Linked DNA regions of Homo sapiens: region 1 is linked to region 2. The links are contacts of gene promoters, found by promoter capture Hi-C in blood cells and fetal thymus (Javierre and others, 2016). All regions are on one chromosome and are shown on one strand. The core of a region is centred on a gene start or on the middle of the fragment in contact, and the rest is flanking DNA. Distances in the headings are between cores, read along the strand shown. Region 1 has its middle 65 kb from the start of PRKG1. Region 2 holds the start of CSTF2T (cleavage stimulation factor subunit 2 tau variant).

Region 1 (3,530 bases), core at 698-3,197, 690 kb after region 2:
GACATTCTGGTTGCCCTAACTGGTGGTCAGGAGGGCTGTTACTGGTGGGTAGAGTATTACTGGTGTTACTGGTGGGTAGAGTCCAAGATGCTGCTAAACATTCTAAAATACACAGGACAGCACTCTCTCCCCTCAACACCGCCCCCTCCCCACCCACACACACACACAACAAATAATTCTCTGATCCAAAATTCAAAATATCCATAGTTGCAAGGCTAAGAAACACCATTTGCCCAGTGATTCTCAGTGGGGGCGTTACTGCCCCCTTGTGGTAACTTAGGAAATTTATTGGTGCTTTTTAGTTATGATGTGCTAGGATCCACTGGAGAATCCCACAATTTGAATAATTATCCTTCAACCCCTGTGCCTTCAAATCTCTCACCAGCCATTCAGGCAGGAGAAAAATCTGTACATATTATCTAAGCCTAGAATCAAAGTCTGTCTTACATGTAAACCAAGTATTTATTTTTGCGTGGCTATAAATTAAGTTTGCTGTAAATTCAACAAAAATGTAAATTAAGGAAAGAGAGTACTTTATTTTGTTAAAAACTTTACAGAGAGATGTTCATCACTTTGGAAAACTGAGTCACTTGATACAAACACCACCAGTGGCACCAGAGTAACCTGTAAAACACATCAGTACTAGTATTTGTTTTCAGTTGTTACATCAAATGATTTCAGGATTAGGAACAAGCACTTCACATCTTCAGTTCAACTTACTGTGTAGCCCTTTTCCAGCAATCATCTCCAACTTGGACAGTTCAAGCACTTACTAAAGCAAGTATTATTTCATGATACATGTTCCCCTATCTTTTGTTTATATTATAGTTAGGATACCACATATATATATATGCATAGATACACACAATTATGTGTGCAGATGGGTTATATTATTGATGAATTTAATTTCAGCATAGTGAGGGAGCATTAGGAAATATCTGGTATGAAAAGGAAAGCATTGTCTGAAATAGGGTTATAAATCACTACTCTTGCCCATCATAATCTTTTGGGATCTTGATTCTGTTTTCCAACATAATAAGCAATCCTCACAGCATCTTGCCCTGTGCAAATCTGAGTGAGATGCCATTAATGGCCTCACCCAAATAATTGGCAAAGATGCTTAATGTAGAGCGAATGATTTACGCTGGGTAGTAGAATTCGCTTTTCTGCACGTGCTCCATGGAATTCCACATCTACCTTTCAACCTACATTCTTAACACAACTTCGCACAAACAATGGCCCTGGAAAATTCCCACAAATCAGAGGCCAATCATGCTTCCCAGTGGAGCCACCCTCTCCTGACCCCTCCTTCCACTGCTGAAGGCACTTGGACATTTCCAGTAAAGTTTCTATAAAATGAAATAACCATTTGAATTATACCTGAGATCTTTTACAATAAAGAGAAGAGAAACTTTCCAAAATCTCTGATAGCAGGCGTATGAGAATCAAAGCAAAGAAGATACAATTTTGAGGAGAATGGAGAATGATACTTCTCTCTGGGTAGCATGAATGTTCTGGCAGATTTTCTTTCCAAAAGTACGATTCCATATTGAACAATGCATTGTCAAATATTTTATATCTTCAAGAAGTCCAAAACCATTCCCAGAAATCTGGATTCTTTGAACCACCTTGTATGAGAATGTTTCTGAATTAAATAGACCCAGAAAGAAATATATTATCATAAATTTCTAAATTATATTTTCAGATGATAACTGGAATGTCCATTGTATAATTTATTTTATATAAAACTAATTCACTAATAAGACTATTCAACTAGCTCATGCTGTCTCTTAAATTTTTCTTATATTCTTAAGAGAAAGCTTAACTTTTCAGTGGTATGATAGTAAAATAGAAATACCATAACAGAAATCCTCAATTTCTGTTATAGACTACATTAACAAAAACCCTCTAGTAAAGCTAAAAGTATGTGTGTGCACCTTAGATTGAGGTGGAGGTGGGAGAACTATTTAAATTCTACTTTTAAATGCAGAGAATAATGTTAACTTAAAAATAGTTTATCCCTAAATATAACTGTGTTTCAAAATGTATAATTTAATTGGCATTTAAAGCTTTTCTAAATTAGTTAGATAAATACACCAAAGAAAATCTATCTTTATCCTAATATATCTATTTGTGGTTTATTCCATTTGTTCTTTGTAACCCTAAAGAAACAAGTTACCAAAATTATAGGGAATTAAGGCATTGAAATTATAGCATAGAAGGGTTTTTTTTCCTTCTAAAATTACAGGTAAGAAAACTACAGTCTACAGAAGTTGTCTCACATTTTAAGCCCAATTTTGTTTCCCTATAAATCCTTATAAAACTCATACCATGAAAACAAGAGAACCACAAACCATCAGAGATGTGTGACATTTCATGGAGCCACCAGAGACTAATACTTTCATCTGAACCAAAGGACAATCAATCAACACCATATCCTTTGAAAAATAAGAAAATGGGAGAAGGAGGGAGGGCAGATGGAAATGGCAGGTGAAAAAGCCTCCACAAAACCTTGTATCATAAATACCTAAATGTGTCCTTTACTCTCTTCATCTCATCCAAAATCTTTTTTTTCCATGGGCTCAGCAGACTTCAGAAGTCACAGCTCCATATCTTGGGCTTGAAGGAAGATAAATACAGGTGTATGGTACAACTGTGACCTTATTTGAACACAGCATCTTTATAGATGTAATCAAGACGACATCATATTGGATTAGGGTGGGCCCCAAATTGAATGACTAGTAATCTTACAAGAGGGGAATTTAGACACACATACTCACAGAGAAAAGACAACCATGTGAAAATGAAGGCAAAGATTGGAATGCAAGTCCAAGTCATGGAATGGTTAAGGTTGCCAGCAACCACCAGAAGCTAGAAAGAGGCAAGGGAAGCTCCTCTCCTAGGGTTTTCAGAAAGAGCATGGCTCTGCTGACACCTTGAATTCGAACTTCTAGTCTACAGAGCTGGGAGTAAATAAATTTCTGTTGCTTGAAGCCACCCAGTTTGTGGCGATGTGTTCCAGCAGAACTAAGAAATGAATGCATATAGTCACCCTTCTTGCAGTATATACCTAGAAAGCTACTTCTCAAGGAGTTATAGCAAATTTCCTGGTCCCAAATTCCCCAAGCCTACCTATTAAGCCAGAATCTTTGGAGATGGGCCTAGGAGTCTTCACTGCAACAAATGGAACCCAAGAGATGTTTATACGTACTACAGTTTGAGAAGAACTGGGCATATGAATGATCTGAAGGTCTTCACAAAGCCCAATTTCCTCCAATTTTCCCCTATGTTCCTGCTGTTGATTATCATGTAGTATAGTGTCAGAGCCCTAGAGCCAGACGTCTTGGACCAGCAAGCCTTGGGATGAGTCACTTGATGTGTTTGCACTGAGTCTCCTCCTCTGTACAGAGCACATGGAACAATTCCTGCCTGGAGGCACCATGAAACCACCATGGGATTGTTGAGAAGAGCAAATTAATTCATGCCAATAAAGTACCTTGCACAAAGTAAGCTCTTAACAATGCTGAATT
Region 2 (3,775 bases), core at 1,208-3,707:
TAATAGAGTGTACCAAATTTAGTTTGGTCTGATGTAAATGAGAAAATCTACTACCAATCCCTAGGACCAATGATTCTTAAAGATCTCCAAACCAGCAGCATCAGCATCACCTGAGAGCTTATTAGAAATGCAAATTCTCCAGACCTGATAAAGCAGAATCTGACTTAACAAGCCATGGCTCAAGGTGGTTCTGCTACATGTGAAGACCACTGGTTTAGACAGTATCAGCAGTAAAGAAACTCTGTCAAGATGTGCAATCTTCTACGAATTTTGCAACATATTATAATACCCCATTACCATCTTCATGATTACTACATTTAATACACACACAATTACACACATATTCAACTTGTAAGTTACCCTTGACAGAATGTGTATAAAAAAGGTATGCCTTCTCTTTGTAAAGTGATGGTATAGAAGGAAGAAAAATAGATTTGTCTTTAGTTTTTTTAAATGATACTATCCTTAACCCCTCCCCTTTCGTCCCCAATAAAAGAATCACACTGGGGAAACATTGCTAGCAGGTGACTATTCCGTTTCTTTGACATAGCAGGAAAATCTTATTAGGTGATGTAAATGAACCTTGTCACTTGCAAATATAAACTGTCGCGCATCTTGGGTGAACAGCTAAGTGCAGAACTGTTTCAAAAACTTGAAGGTAAATGGATGTCTTATTTGCAGCTAAACCATCATACTCATGTCAAATCTATTCATTGGAATAGGATACTGAAGATACATAATACAATTTTTTTGCTGAAATTTAAAAGTTTCATAATCCACTTAAGAGGCATATTTCAGAATAAAATAATTCTCTGTTTTGGAATTAAAGCACAGGCTTGGAGCAGTCCAGTCCACAGAAGTATAATGCAATCTATCCATATAATTTTAAATTTTCTAATAGCCACATTTAAAAAAGTAAAATGAAATGAATAACATTAACTTCAAAATAATTTTTTACTCAAATATATAAAAATATTACATTTCGACTTATAAAAAATATAAAATTGATGGGCTATTTTTACTTTTTTTGTATTTGATCATTAAAATCTTTCATGTATGTTACATGTATGGCACACCTCAACCAGTATGTTAAATTTTGACTGGAAATACTTTCTTTTTATTTGTTTTTATTTTTTGTCTTAGTGTTCTTCAAAATGATTTTTATTTAGAACACAATTTATTATTGCAAAAGTAGATTCTATATCCAAGTTGTTCTAAATACTAAAAAAGTTTTCCAATAGCTTACTGAACATTAGTTTTTATATTTAAATAAAAAATGAGATTTAAAATTCATTTCTTCAATCACACTAGCTTCATTTCATATATTCAATACACGTAAGGCAGTGTAGAATTGGAGCTATGCGAGACCAAGCTGGGTTAGAATCCTGACTTGGCCTCTTTCCAGCTGCTTGTCCTTGGGAATTTACCTAGCCCTCTCCAAGCTTCAGTTCTAGCTTCGAATTGCAGGCGGGGAAACACCACACTGAATATGTTTTAACTCCTACCTGCAAAGCTAACAGCAGAAGACAAACACCCGCTATTTGTTTCTCCCTTCATGGAAGTGGTGGACTCACTGCATGATATAATAAAAATCAGAACCAATCAACGTAGGGATAGTTAAGTAAATTTCTTTATTCCATACTCTGAAGCCATAAAATACTAATAACTAATTAATCACTAATTTATTTAATCACCAATTAATATTGAAATCGGTTGTTATTAAGGAAGAAAACCGTAATATTAGGAATAGCACGACGGCTGCCCGTGTGCTCAGGAAAAACCTAGAAGGGTCTGCCACCCATCCATTAACAGCGGTTATAGGAAGCAACAGAATGGGGGCAGGGCCCAGCCGGCACACGCTTCAGTTTATATTTCTTGTCAGTTAATTTCCAAAAACGTTGTTCTAAAAAGGAGATATAATACTGTTTTAGTTTAAGGGGCAAATCTCAAATGTGCTGAAACGACTACGCTTTTCCCTCAGTCTGGAATGTGATTTTAAATCTAGCTTAACTATACTATAATAAAAGGCCACATGAAAATACTTTGTCAGAACGAAAAACACGCCGCCTTAAATCCGCTTTCGGTTGGCGGTTTCCCGCCAGCGGAACGGAAGCAAAACCGCCTTTGACGTCAAGGGAAGAGTCCCCTCCCAGTTACTACGGTGAAGTCTATGCGGCCATCTTTACTGTGGTCATCTCGTACCAAGCGTGTCGTAGTGGGGCTGTTGGGGCCCCACAGAAAGTCAGCGGAACGTGAAATGGGAAAGGAATCATGCGACTCTGTAATAAGAAGCTGACAGAACCATGAAGGATCAGGGACTGAAAGCATTAGATAAGTTGTTAGTGGGATGCAGGTTCCACAGGCAAGCGGAACGATTCAAGCGAATTAGTAAAGTTTCTGCCCGGATCTTGAAAGCCGCTTCCGTTGCTCAGCGGAAGTGTCGGTCGCAAGAGGACAGACGCCTCGAAGAATCCGCTATCGGCTGTCTGCACAACCGGAATCATGTCGAGTTTGGCGGTGAGAGACCCGGCAATGGATCGATCACTGCGTTCCGTGTTCGTGGGGAACATTCCATATGAGGCAACTGAGGAGCAGTTAAAGGACATTTTCTCGGAGGTTGGTTCTGTTGTCAGTTTCCGGCTGGTATACGATAGAGAGACGGGAAAACCCAAGGGCTATGGCTTCTGCGAATACCAAGACCAGGAGACCGCGCTTAGTGCCATGCGGAACCTCAATGGGCGGGAGTTCAGTGGGAGAGCGCTTCGGGTGGACAATGCTGCCAGTGAAAAGAATAAGGAGGAGTTAAAGAGCCTTGGGCCTGCAGCGCCCATTATTGACTCACCCTATGGGGATCCCATCGATCCAGAAGATGCCCCTGAATCGATTACCAGAGCAGTAGCCAGTCTCCCCCCGGAGCAGATGTTTGAGCTGATGAAGCAGATGAAGCTCTGTGTCCAAAACAGCCACCAGGAAGCTCGAAACATGTTACTTCAAAATCCACAACTGGCTTATGCACTGTTGCAGGCACAAGTAGTGATGAGAATCATGGATCCAGAGATTGCTCTGAAAATTCTGCATCGGAAGATACATGTCACACCACTGATCCCAGGCAAATCTCAGTCTGTGTCTGTCTCTGGCCCTGGCCCTGGCCCTGGCCCTGGGCTCTGCCCAGGACCTAATGTTCTGCTGAACCAGCAGAATCCTCCAGCTCCTCAGCCTCAGCATTTGGCTAGAAGACCTGTGAAGGACATTCCTCCTCTGATGCAGACTCCTATCCAGGGTGGAATTCCAGCTCCAGGGCCAATACCAGCTGCAGTTCCCGGAGCTGGTCCTGGTTCCTTAACTCCTGGAGGAGCAATGCAGCCCCAACTTGGAATGCCAGGGGTTGGCCCAGTGCCTTTAGAGCGGGGACAAGTGCAGATGTCAGATCCTAGAGCTCCTATACCTCGCGGACCCGTGACTCCTGGTGGTCTGCCTCCTCGAGGACTGTTAGGAGATGCTCCAAATGACCCACGTGGAGGGACTTTGCTTTCAGTCACTGGAGAAGTGGAGCCCAGAGGTTATCTGGGTCCACCCCATCAGGGTCCCCCCATGCATCATGCCTCTGGTCATGACACTCGTGGCCCTTCCTCACATGAGATGAGGGGAGGGCCATTAGGAGATCCCAGACTGCTAATTGGAGAGCCCAGAGGCCCCATGATAGATCAAAGGGGTCTACCTATGGATGGTAGAGGTGGTAGAGATTCTCGAGCGATGGAGACTCGTGCCATGGAAA

The links. Contacts are between HindIII fragments. The CHiCAGO score rates a contact against its expected background, and 5 or more counts as called.
Region 1: a fragment that was not itself captured here is called in contact with the fragment with the promoter of CSTF2T in region 2 in 1 of 17 cell types (megakaryocytes); the score reaches 7.0 in megakaryocytes.

Annotation. Positions count from the first base shown.
Region 1 is chr10:51,007,834-51,011,363 of GRCh38, reverse strand. It overlaps a transcript of PRKG1 not described here. Among named protein-coding and RNA genes, the nearest start is that of PRKG1, 65 kb to the left of the region's middle. The HindIII fragment of the contact is 249 bases long and covers 1,823-2,071 here.
Region 2 is chr10:51,698,277-51,702,051 of GRCh38, reverse strand. CSTF2T (cleavage stimulation factor subunit 2 tau variant) reads left to right here and starts at 2,457. Exons shown (of 1, transcript NM_015235.3): 1 at 2,457-3,775. The coding sequence starts at 2,503. All of the region lies in intron 3 of PRKG1 (protein kinase cGMP-dependent 1), which reads right to left. RefSeq lists a silencer at 1,329-1,623 and enhancers at 1,377-2,065, 2,190-2,769. The HindIII fragment of the contact is 5,025 bases long and covers 1,445-3,775 here.